Regions from separate parts of the Homo sapiens genome. Here all the other regions are linked to region 1. Evidence: promoter capture Hi-C in 16 types of primary human blood cells and fetal thymus (Javierre and others, 2016). All regions are on one chromosome and are shown on one strand. The core of a region is centred on a gene start or on the middle of the fragment in contact, and the rest is flanking DNA. Distances in the headings are between cores, read along the strand shown.

What was found. The method cuts DNA at HindIII sites, captures the fragments that hold promoters and counts their contacts. A CHiCAGO score of 5 or more calls a contact.
Region 2: a fragment that was not itself captured here is called in contact with the fragment with the promoter of ALOX15B in region 1 in 1 of 17 cell types (endothelial precursors); the score reaches 5.1 in endothelial precursors.
Region 3: a fragment that was not itself captured here is called in contact with the fragment with the promoter of ALOX15B in region 1 in 1 of 17 cell types (megakaryocytes); the score reaches 5.0 in megakaryocytes.

The regions. Positions count from the first base shown.
Region 1 is chr17:8,036,754-8,040,909 of GRCh38, forward strand. ALOX15B (arachidonate 15-lipoxygenase type B) reads left to right here and starts at 2,306. Exons shown (of 14, transcript NM_001141.3): 1 at 2,306-2,549; 2 at 2,633-2,852; 3 at 3,149-3,230. The coding sequence starts at 2,403. The HindIII fragment of the contact is 10,323 bases long and covers 1,102-4,156 here.
Region 2 is chr17:7,933,744-7,937,899 of GRCh38, forward strand. CNTROB (centrobin, centriole duplication and spindle assembly protein) reads left to right here. Exons shown (of 19, transcript NM_053051.5): 2 at 395-479; 3 at 722-803; 4 at 1,246-1,402; 5 at 2,623-2,739; 6 at 2,958-3,074; 7 at 3,421-3,519. Among named protein-coding and RNA genes, the nearest start is that of CNTROB, 3.6 kb to the left of the region's middle. The HindIII fragment of the contact is 1,312 bases long and covers 1,206-2,517 here.
Region 3 is chr17:7,957,678-7,961,833 of GRCh38, forward strand. No RefSeq gene overlaps it. Among named protein-coding and RNA genes, the nearest start is that of CNTROB, 28 kb to the left of the region's middle. The HindIII fragment of the contact is 4,177 bases long and covers 1-3,753 here.

The sequences.
Region 1 (4,156 bases), core at 1,056-3,555:
CTGGGCAACAGAGCGAGACTCGGTCTCAAAAAAAAAAAAAAAAAATTAAACATACTGTTACCATATGATCCAGCAATTCTACTACTAGGTATATATCCTAAAGAATTGAAAGTAAGAACTGGAGCGTGCAATATTGGTTTTCTGTTCCTGTGTTAGTTTGCTAAGGATAATGGCCTCCAGCTCTATCCATGTTCCCACAAAGGACATGATCTCATTCTTTTTTTTTTTTTTTTTGAGACGAAGTCTCGCTCTATCACCAGGGCTGGAGTGCAGTGGCACGATCTTGGCTCACTGCAACCTCCGCCTCCCGGGTTCAAGTGATTCTCCTGCCTCAGCCTCCTGAGTAGCTGGAATTGCAACCTCTGCCTCCCGGGTTCAAATGATTCTCCTGCCTCAGCCTCCTGAGTAGCCGGAATTACAGGCAGTCACCACCACACCCAGCTAATTTTTGTATTTTTAGTAGAGATGGGGTTTCACCATGTTGGTCAGGCTGGTCTCGAACTCCTGACCTCGTGATCTGCCTGCCTCAGCCTCCCAAAGTTCTGAGATTACAGGTGTGAGACACCATGCCTGACCATGATCTCATTCTTTTTCATGGCTGTATAGTATTCCATGGTATATATGGAATATACATGATAAGTCACTCTCACTTCAGTTGGCTTTCATGAAACACTGTGACAGGCACAAGAGGACAAAGTGTCTGCCGGCATCGTTCTCCTCCTACCTCATTGACTGAACTTTGCTGCTTCCACTCCTTTGCATGACTTCCAAATATCAGAGGACCTTAGGGCACAGCTTGTGCCTCTTCTCTTCTCTACTTATAGGATATTCTCTGCCTAGTGATCTCCACCAGCCTGTGGTATAGATGTACCTGTGTGCTTGTGACTCAAAGATGCACACCTGCAGTCCTGAGCTCTATGCCCAGACGTGGGTTCTCCACTTGGATGTCTAATGGCCATCTCAAACTTAGCATCTCCAGACCGAAAACCCCAAATCTGTTATGTTATTCCCCCAAAGCCCAAATCCATAACTTCCCCTTGGCATCTCTCCCCCAAATCCCTCCCTCACTGCACTCTTGCCTTTCCCTCCTCCAACAAGCCAAGCTTTTCCTAACCACAGGGCCTCTTCAGGAACAGTTTCCTCTGCACAAAACTCTGTTCCCCAGACAGATCCTTTCACCTCCTCTGAGGCTCTGAACGCCTCCCTTCCCACCTCTGCTTCTCACTCCTTCACATTAGTCTGTTTCATTTCCTTCATTGCACTTATTATCATCTGAAATTATGTGTTGGTTTACTTATTTTCTCTCACACTTGATTTTTTTTTTTTAGACCGAGATTTGCTCTGTCGCCCATGCTGGAGTGCAATGGCACAACTTCACCTCACTGAAACCTCCGCCTTCCGGGTTCAAGCTATTCTCCTGCCTCAGCCTCCTGAGTAGCTGGGACTACAGGCGCCCGCCACCACGCTTGGCTAATTTTTTTGTATTTTTAGTAGAGATGGGGTTTCACCATGTTGGCCAGCAACTGTGCCTGGCCTCACACTTGATTTTTAATCTCCATGAGAGCAAGCACTAGGTCTTGCCTGGGCCTTTATCAATAGCAGTGAGCATAGCACCTGGCACAGAGGTAGTTCTGAACATTAATTATTGAATGAAATAAAATAATGAATGTAGGCTGGGCGCGGTGGCTCACGCCTGTAATCCCAGCACTTTGGGAGGCCGAGGCAGGCGGATCATGAGGTCAAGAGATCAAGATCATCCTGGCCTACATGGTGGAACCCCGTCTCTACTAAAATACAAAAATTAGCTGGGCATGGTGGCACTCGCCTGTTGTCTCAGCTACTGGGGAGGCTGAGGTAGGAGAATCACTTGAACCCAGGAGGAGGAGGTTCCAGTGAGCCGAGATCATGCTGCTGCACTCCAGCCTGGCGACAGAGCAAGCCTCTGTCTCAAAAATAAATAAATAAATAAATTTTAAAAATAATGAACGCAGGCCCAAGAAGAGTTGTGGGAAATGGGGTGATATTTTTGCATAGACTTCTAAGGCTAAGAAGGAAAACAAACAGACGTGGTGGGCACAAATCTACCCCCACCCCAACTGGGTCCCAACTCTAGGCTCTCTGGCCTGGCACCACCACTGAAAGGCCCCGTTCCCCAAACCTCAGGGTATTCTTAGTCCCTCCTGTTCCCAGCGCTGCCAATCCCCCGCCCACCCCCACTTTAGTTGCGTGTTCCAGCCTCTCCGCCCCGCCCCTCCCCGCCCTGAAACGGACGTGCTTTTTAGAGGAGTCCACTGGGCTTGGAGTCAGTGGCAATAACCAGGGGCAATAACCAGGCGTGTCCCAGGGGGGAGCCCCGCTCTGCAGCCCTGTGCGCCGTAGAGAGCTGGACTTAGGCTGGCAGCATGGCCGAGTTCAGGGTCAGGGTGTCCACCGGAGAAGCCTTCGGGGCTGGCACATGGGACAAAGTGTCTGTCAGCATCGTGGGGACCCGGGGAGAGAGCCCCCCACTGCCCCTGGACAATCTCGGCAAGGAGTTCACTGCGGGCGCTGTGAGTGCGTGGGAGTGGATGGGGTGGAGGTGAAGGGGGCGAGCAGGAGGGTCCGGCCTGACGCATACTTAACCTCCCCTCAGGAGGAGGACTTCCAGGTGACGCTCCCGGAGGACGTAGGCCGAGTGCTGCTGCTGCGCGTGCACAAGGCGCCCCCAGTGCTGCCCCTGCTGGGGCCCCTGGCCCCGGATGCCTGGTTCTGCCGCTGGTTCCAGCTGACACCGCCGCGGGGCGGCCACCTCCTCTTCCCCTGCTACCAGTGGCTGGAGGGGGCGGGGACCCTGGTGCTGCAGGAGGGTACAGGTGAGGGGCGGGCCGGGCTGGGGCTGCAGGGGGAGCACAGGAAGGGGTAGGGGACTGGGGGTTGGGGAGAAGGGCAGGTGAAATGGAGAGGTGAGCTGGTGTGGCCACAGAGTAGCGGGCAGAGGAGAGGGAATGGCGGAGCCTTGGGGAGCGGGAGGTAGCAGCCTGGTGTAGGAGAAACTGTACTTATGGGAGGAGGGGACCTGGTAGAGGGTGGCAATCGTGGAGACTGTGTGGCTGGTGGTAGTGATGGTGAGTTTCTCTCCCCACCCCAACCTACTCCCCTTCTCCCACAGCCAAGGTGTCCTGGGCAGACCACCACCCTGTGCTCCAGCAACAGCGCCAGGAGGAGCTTCAGGCCCGGCAGGAGATGTACCAGTGAGGAGGGGGTTACTGATGGGGGAGGGTGTGCCCAAACGATGAGGGGCAGCTTGAGTGTCCTGGTCATGACAGAGATTAAAAGCCCCTGCCTCCACCTCTCCTATCAAAGCTGCTCCTGGGATCAGCAGCGTCTACAGGAACGTATTAGAAATGCAAATTCTCAGGCCACCTCCAACCTACTACGACACTGAGGGTGTAGAGTGGGAATTTTTGTTTTGACAAGCCTTCCAGATGACTCTGGTGGCCACTGATGTTTGAAAAACACTGCTCTAGGGCCAGGTGCCGTGGTGGCTCACACCTGTAATCTCAGCACTTTGGGAGGCTGAGGGAGGCGGATCACTGGAGGTCGGGAGTTCGAGACCAGCCTGGCCAACAGGGCGAAACCCCATCTCTACTAAAAATACAAAAATCAGCTGGGTAGGGTGGCGGGCACCTGTATTCTCAGCTACATGGGAGGCTGAGGCAGAAGAATAGCTTGAACCCGGGTGGTGGAGGTTGCAGTGAGCCGATCACGCCATTGCACTCCAGCATGGGGGACAGAGCAAAACTCCATCTCAAAAAAAGAAAAAAAAAAAGGAAGGAAGGAAAAGGAAGGAAAGAGAGAAAGAAAGAGAGAGAAAGAAAGAAAGAAAGAAAGAAAGAAAGAAAGAAAGAAAGAAAGAAAGAAAAGAAAGAGAAAGAAACTGCTTTAAATGCCTTACCTTTGCTGGTGTCTTCCTTGCCCTGGGACTTTTTCATGCATCGGCTTGTTGTGTCCTCCCAGAAATCTGAGTAGAGCCAGAAACACGCCCTTCAAGCCCCAGGAAACTCACCCTCCAGGGCTAGCAAGGGGTGAGATGGGGGCTCTCTCTGTGCTCTGGGCTCAGCATTGGAGATCACAGGGGAAAACTGGGACTTGGAGATAACAGAGGAGTTGGGGCCGC
Region 2 (4,156 bases), core at 612-3,111, 100 kb before region 1:
GTACATCATTAAGACATAGCTTAGTCAACTACAACATGTTACAGAGAAGATAGTTATTAGTATTGTATAGAAAAGGTGTCAGAGTCAATTTGCAGACTGGTTAGGTCTTCCAGAGTTTGAAAATGATAGCCATAAGCCATACAGTCCTTACATTTGTTCTTGAATCGGCAAGAATCTCCGCAACTCTTGTCTTATACCTCCTCGATTATTTTATTTACACTCTCTTTCTGGCTTCTGTAGTATTTGAATTTCTGATTCAAGTTTAGGACATCCCTTATTGGATCCGTTTGGTTTTTCTTGTTTTCCAAAGTGCTGGAGTGAAAATTCTACCCTGGCAATAGGTAGGAGATAGATAACACAGACTGCATCTGATTTCCATGTGGCTTTTTTCCAGGATGGTTCTAAGCATATCTTTGAGATGGAAAGTGTTCGGGGTCAGCTCCAGACCATGCTCCAAACCTCACGTGATACAGCCTATCGTGAGTAAGCCCCTTCCCTAGAACTATGAAGGAGAACCTAGATGTAAGGGGTGGGAGAAAGTGGACAGAGGAAGCAGGCAGGAAAACCTCTGAGCAAGAGATTTCAGGAGAAAAGTCTCCCGTTCTTTGGGAGAGGGGGTGAAGGAGTGAGGGAACTGGAAAGGAAGGCCTTTTCTCTTCAGGTGGCCCCTGTTTTTGTCATTACCTGACTCTGGCTTTGGGGTCCCTCTGGCTGCCTGCAGGGGATCCTCTCATTCCTGGCGCTGGCTCAGAGAGACGGGAAGAGGACTCCTTTGACAGTGATAGCACAGCCACCTTGCTCAAGTGAGTTCTCCTTGTGGTTCTCCTAGCTTGTTTGCTTTCTTGGAAATCCAGGTGTTTTGTTCCTTATTTCTCCCTTTATTGCTTTTGTACCTCTTAAGAACCCAAGAGGCTTATCACTTGCCTTTCAGTTTTCATCTTTTTCTACTGTCTCCTGCCCCCTTTACTCCTTCAGGAACACAGGTATCTGTTGCCTAGTACCTGGCTTTCTCTTAACCTGCAGTCATTCTTCCCCTCTAAAGAGTTAGCTTGTTTCTGCTGAAACCTTTAAGTGAATCACAGACCTGTGTGTTATTTATAGCACTATGGTTATATAGCTTTACGACTTTGGACAAGTCTCTTGCCCTCTCTGGGTCTCAGTTTCCTCATTTGTAGAATATCACAGTTGGACAAGTGGATTCCAAAAGCTTTCCCAGCCCTAACATTCTCTACCTGATTTGCTCAGCACCCGGCCCCTGCAAGACTTGTCTCCATCTAGCTCAGCCCAAGCCCTGGAGGAGCTGTTTCCCCGCTACACCAGCCTTCGGCCAGGGCCTCCACTCAATCCCCCAGATTTTCAGGGGCTGAGAGATGCATTGGATTCAGAGCATACCCGCCGCAAGGTAAGATGCAAACGCTTCCTTTCGAAAGCAGCAAAGATTAGAAAGAGGGGACCCAAGTGTTGAAAAGGGCTGAGGGGGCCTGGCGTGGTGGCTCACGCCTGTAATCACAGCACTTTGGGAGGCTGAGGCAGGCGGATCACGAGGTCAGGAGATCGAGACCATCCTGGCTAACACGGTGAAACCCGTCTCTACTAAAAATAGAAAAAATTAGCCGGGCATGGTGGTGGGTGCCTGTAGTCCCAGCTACTCGGGAGGCTGAGGCAGGAGAATGGCGTGAACCTGGGAGGCGGAGCTTGCAGTGAGCCGAGATCATGCCGCTGCACTCCAGCCTGGGCGACAGAGCGAGACTCCGTCTCAAAAAAAAAAAACTAAAAAAGAAAAGGGCTGAGGGTTAAGAGCCTGAAAGCTGGGACTTAAATGTTTTTCTGAGGAGGGCTTTTTTGACCATTCCATCTAATATGGCACCACCTCCTTTCCAAGTAGTCAGATCGCCTTCTTATTTCTTTCATGTAGCTTATCGTTCTGATATATCTTGTTTTTTTCTCCTCTCTAAAATTTGAGGGTCCGTATCTTGTTTGTCTTAGTACTGGCTGCCTAAGGTCTAGAATATACATAACACAGAAACACTCTGTGTTTGTCGAATGGACACAAACTCTGCTAGCTTGTGCACAGGATTTACAGCTACTGGTGATATACTGAGCTTTATCTCTGTGAGCCTCTGCCTTAGTGTCTGAAGGGGACAGAGAAATAGACAAAGGAGAGGAAAAGTCAAAATCACTGGTTGCCATTTTTGGAAGCCTCTCTTTCTCCATGTTAAACCCCTTGGCATGAATGAAAGGCTTTCCCCTTTATCCTTGCTGTGTTTATTCATTGTGTCCAATGAGCTTCTGAAGGTAGGAGTAACTTTGCACATTTTGCTGTGTGGGCTGCTGCATCTCTGCCAAAAGGTTTATGGGATTTTTACTCAGGAGATCCAGGAAAAGGAGGAGCCTGGAATCTAAGCACTTATCTCCTGAAAAGGTACAGAAACATGTTGGAGATCTTGAGCCTCAAGGTGCTTGCTTCAGAATTTTCCTGATTCTCCCTCTCCAGACCTATTCTGTTCTTGGGACCCAAGCTTCTTGGCTCCAGCCCACTCCCCCACTAGAGGAGCTGGAAAGTTTGGTGCTGTGGTCATACCAAAGATGGGCAACACCCAGACTCCTCACCCTTTTCCCCAGCATTGTGAGCGCCATATTCAGAGCCTGCAGACCCGAGTGTTAGAGCTACAGCAACAATTAGCCGTGGCTGTGGCTGCCGACCGCAAGAAAGATACCATGATTGAACAACTGGACAAGGTACCAGGGTAGCAAAATGTGGGTGGGTCTCTCCATGAAGAGCATTAAGGAATAATAAATAAGTGGGTGGCCAACCAATGTTTCTTGGTACATGCTGAGAGCTGGGCAAGGGGTTGGTTTGCTGACTGTTGGGAGAAGATGGCTGTTGACCCTGCCCCTGTGGGTAGAAAGAGGCAAAAAAGTTATTTTGAAATTTCATCTTACTTGCCCTACCTAAGACCCTGGCCCGTGTGGTGGAGGGCTGGAACCGGCATGAGGCTGAGCGGACAGAGGTTCTCAGGGGACTTCAAGAGGAACACCAGGCAGCAGAGCTCACCAGAAGCAAGCAGCAGGAGGTGAGCGCCCTGGAGCATATGGCATTAGAACCTGAGTCACAGATCTCAAGATGGAAAGGGGCAGAAATAGCTCTGGAATTAGGGTTTCCAACAGATTGACCTCAGTCTTGTAGTGGCTGTCCTGACATTTCTTCTCATCCCTCCTTTCTTCTCCTTTAACCGTTTCTGCTGTCCAACTTGAATCATCAATGTCTTAATTTTTCCCACACCATGTAGTCTTCTATCTGGCCCCTTAGTCATTTAGTTAACTGTGAAGTTTCAAGTTTACATTGTCAATGCTTTATAAAATATAGCACACACAGATTTCCCACAGTTCCTCTGCCCTGTATTCCTCTCTTCCTGAAAGACAGTAACCCGCCTGGAACAAAGCCTTTCTGAGGCCATGGAGGCCCTGAATCGTGAGCAGGAAAGTGCCAGACTGCAGCAACGGGAAAGAGAGACACTGGTGAGAAGATTGGACTGGGTTAATTCCACTGGAAGCTGTTAATTACTTCTAGAGAGCTGTGGGCTATTGGTGGATTGTGGGAGATTATAATTTGAGTTGCACCAGAGCACTGTTTCCCAAAGTGTGTTCCTTAGAACACTAATTCAGCTAGATATTCTATTAAAAAAAAAGGCTCTGCTACCAAGTCGGTTTGAGAAACTCTGCAAATTGTATCATCATTAGAATATTAGTGTCATCTGAAGAATTATTTTAAAATATAGGCTAGGCACGGTGGCTCACCCCTGTAATCCCAGCACTTTGGGAGGCCAAGGCAGGCAGATCATGAGGTCAGGAGTTTGAGACCAGCCTGGCCAGCATGGTGAAACCCCGTCTCTACTAAAAATACAAAAAACTAGCTGGACATGGTGGTGCATGCCTGTAGTCCCAGCGACTTGGGAGGCTGAGGCAGGAGAATTGCTTGAACCCAGCAGGCAGAGGTTGCAGTGAGCTGAGATCAAGCCACTGCACTCCAGCCTGGGTGACAGAGTGAGACTCCATCTCAAAAAATAAAAATAAAAAATAAAATAAAATAAAGATTTCTGGGACTCACCTGCAGAGGTTTTGATTCAGTAGATATATGGTGGAACTCAAATCTTTT
Region 3 (4,156 bases), core at 415-2,914, 80 kb before region 1:
TGTTTTCTAGAAGTGGAATTACTGGTTCGAACAGTCTGAACATTTTTAAGATCCTTAAAACATAATGCCAAATTGTTTTTCAAAAAGATCGCACCAGTTTACACTTCCACCAGATGTGTAGTAAAAGTACAAATAATACTCACTGAGGACACCCTGGCGTGTCATTTCCCATGCTAGAATGCCTTGCCCTTATTTGCTTGAAATGAACTTACAGAGTAACCTCTGTGTGCATGTGACCTGGACAGGTTGCCTTCAGGGCATAGATTTGTCAGTGTCCCACAAGGCATTTTTTGGATGATGTATCCATTAGGATGATTTTGGTGGCACGTAATTGAAACCCTGACTCACGTTGTCTTTAGCAAGAAGGACACAGAAACAGGGTGGGCTCCGAGTGTGGTAAGGTTAATGGCACAATGAAGTCAGGAACTCAGGTTCTTTTTTTTGAGATGGAGTTTCCCTCGTCGCCCAGGTTGGAGTGTACTGGCACAATCTTGGCTCACCTCCCATGTTCAAGTGATTCTCCTGCCTCAGCCTCCCAAGTAGCTGGGATTACAGGCACTCGCCACCATGCCTGGTTAATTTTTGTATTTTTAGTAGGGACGGGGTTTCACCATCTTGGTCAGGCTGGTCTGGAACTCCTGACCTCGTGAGCCACCCGCCTCGGCCTCCCAAAGTGCTGGGATTACAAGCTGAACCGCCACACCCTGCCAGGAACTCAGGTTCTTTTCGTGTCTATCCTTCCCTCCTCAACACCGGCTTCCTCCTCAGACTGGCTGCAGGTGTTTCAGGGCTCTATCCAGATGTAACAAAGCCCATGGCCACATAGGCTGTGCACCACCACGCCCGGCTAATTTTTTGTATTTTTAGGAGAGAAGGGGTTTCAGTGTGTTAGCCAGGATGGTCTCGATCTCCTGACCTCATGATCCGCCCGCCTGGTCCTCCCAAAGTGCTGGGATTACAGGCATGAGCCACCGTGGCTGGCTATGGTAATTATTTTTGAAATGTACATGGCCAGGCATGGTGCTCAAGCCTGTAATCCCAGCACTTTGGGAGGCCAAGTCAGGAGGATCGCCTAAGTCCAGTAGTTCAAGACCCACCTGGGCAGCAAAGTGAGACCCTCGCCTCTACAAAAAATTTAAAATTAGTCAGGAGTGGTGGCACGTGCCTGTAGTCCCCATTACTCGGGAGGCTTGATCTCAGGAGGTTGAGGCTGCAGTGAGCTGTGTTCATGTCACTGCAGTCCAGCCTGAGTGACAGAGCAAGACTCTGTCTCAAAAAAAGTCCAAAAACCCAAAAAGAAAAACCCAAAATAAATAAAAACATACAAATTTTCAATAAATATACATCAAAATATGCAAATTAAGGAAGTGTAGAATCTTTTAATTTTAAATTGTCATGTTTTAGAAGTGATTTTTCTTCTAGTATTTTAAAAATCTTTATCTTCTGAAAATATTTTCAACTATTAAGATAAAAAATGCAGCCGGGTGTCGTGGCTTATGACTGTAATCCCAGCGCTTTGGGAGGCCAAGGTGGGCGGATCACTTGAGGTCAGGAGTTCAAGCCCCGCCTGGCCAACATGGTGAAACCCCTTCTCTACTAAAAAAAAATAGAAAAATTAGCCGGTGTGGTGGCATGTGCCTGTAGTCCCAGCCACTTGGGAGGCTGAGACAGTAGAATGGCTTGAACCTGGGAGGCAGAGGTTGCAGTGGGCTGAGATCACGGCACTGCACTCCAGCCTGGGCAACAGAGCAAGACTCCATCTCGAAAAAAAAAGAAAGATGAAAAATGCAAGTTATAACTAATAAATATTAAACATTTAAGCAAAATCATTCTAATAAAGCTGAAATACTTAAATTTTTGAAAATTTATTAAATCATCTTCACAAAAGTATTTGTGGTTCTAGCATTCAATATCAACAGTTGCCAGTATGAAAAACCAGCATCCTACTTCATCTCTGCTATATCTAGACATACATGCACACCAACTTAAGAGCAATATGGAGTGTTTGCTATTACGGAATGTTCCTGGGCAGTCTTGTGCAATGGTTGTGGGCACTGTTAGTTTATGAGAACTACCTACTTGATAGCTAACAGTTAGATTGTCCCATAGACAAAGATCAGTGTGTTCCAAACTGAACTCACTGGATTCCTTTCCTAAACCTGCTATTTTTCTGCTTTCTCTATCTCAGCAAAGACCTTTTCTCTGTCTCTGTCACCACTCACATCCAGTTTGTCACCATGACCTGCTGATTCTTCCTGTGTGAAATTTCTCCTCACTTCTCCCATCCTGCTCTTATTCTCTCCTGGGTTATTGGGACCACTTCACTCTTGGTCTCCCTCTGTCCTTTCATGGCTCTCTCCAAGCGTTCCCACTTGGTGTGCTCTTTCTAAAATGAAAATCGGCCAGGCGCAGTGACTCACACCTGTAATCCCGGCACTTTAGGAGGTCGAGGTGGGCAGATCACCTGAGGTCAGGAGTTCGAGACCAGCCTGACCAACATGGTGAAACCCCATGTCTACTAAAAATACAAAAATTAGCTAGGCATGGTGGCGCACGCCTGTAATCCCAGCTACTTGGGAGGCTGAGGCAGGAGAATCACTTGAACCCTGGAGGCAGAGATTGCAGTGAGCTGAGATCACACCATTGCACTCCAGCCTGGGCATCAAGAGCGAAACTCCGTCGCAAAAATAAATAAATAAATAAATAAATAGCAAATCTACTTGTCAAAATAGCATGTCTTTAATAAAAGATAAATAAAAATAAAAAACAAAATAAAACACACATCTATACTCACCTTCATGGAACCCTCCCAAATCTGAGCACAGTCCGCAGGGCCCCTGCCTCTCCCCAACATCATGCTGTGGTTGCATGTGCTTCATCCCATCCGGAGCTCCAGGCTATTGCTGCTGTTTTTCCTGTGTTCTCATCCCAGGGGCCTCTCCGGGGCAGGTGATCCTCCTTGAAATCCCCATGTCCTTCTCTGGGGCCCAGAAATTCCATCTGCTGCTCCTGTGGTCCTCTGGGCTCAGGGAAACCCCGTGGGACTCCCAAGACCCTTGTTGCTCTGTCCAGGCTGGGCCAGGCAGACCCCGGGAGGCCTCTGCCCCGTTACCACTCTGCCGTTTCTGCTTTGGGGTATTTTTCCATCTTGGGGTCCACCCCAAGGATCCTCAAACTTAGCGGTGTCTGATTCTGTGCCCCGACCTTGAGGTTCAGCTGATGCTGGGGGTGGGGTTGAGAGCATTCCACACAAATTCAACCCCTTTCTCTCAGTCTTCTGTCTTGGGAGCCAAGAGCCCAGCCCTTACATCCTATTTGCCAGGTTCCTTCCTGTGTCCCACCAGACCTAGACCTTGGAAGTTTAAAAGCCAGCAGAAGACTTAATTTTTCCTGTGGCTCGCGCCTGTAATCTCAGCATTTTGGGAAGTCAAGACAGGCGTTCGAGACCAGCTTGGGCAACATAGTGAACCCCCCACCCCAATTTTAAAAACAAAATACAAAAATTAGCCAGGTGTGGTGGTGCACACCTCTGGGAGGTAGGGGTGGGAGGATCGTTTGAGCCTGGAAGGTAGAGACTGTAGTGAGCCGTGATTGCGCCACTGCACTCCAGCCTGAGTGACAGAATGAGACCCTGTCTCTAAAAAAAAAAAAAAGAGAAAGAGAGAGGGAATTATTCTTATACACCTAGATGTACCACATTTTCCCTGAGGCAGTGAATTCAGAATACTTGGAAAGGTAAATGAGGAAGGGTTAAGCTTTAACAGGAAAAATGGGGAAAAAAGTGAGTAATATTTCAAAATATTACCTTTCTATACAAGGGAAAGGATCCAAATTATACCACTGTGTCGTAAAAATTATTATGACCTGAAGACATTTGAGAATCAACAGATGCAGAAAGAGGCTTTGTCTGAATACTCCCTTATCTGACTAAAAGCAGAAACTTCTGGGAGTGAGACTGCCACTAGCCCCCTCTCTGGAGGAGTTTCACGGCTGTGAAGAAGATGAAGAAGACCACAAACAAACATGATGAAGAACCATCTTGTCTCCTGGTTTGTTCTCCTAAAAATACATTTGTCTTTCCTAAATAAACCCATTTGTTCTTCCAGTAGAAGCCTTTTCCTCCCTGCTCCTTTACCCTTATTAAGGTAGGCTTGTA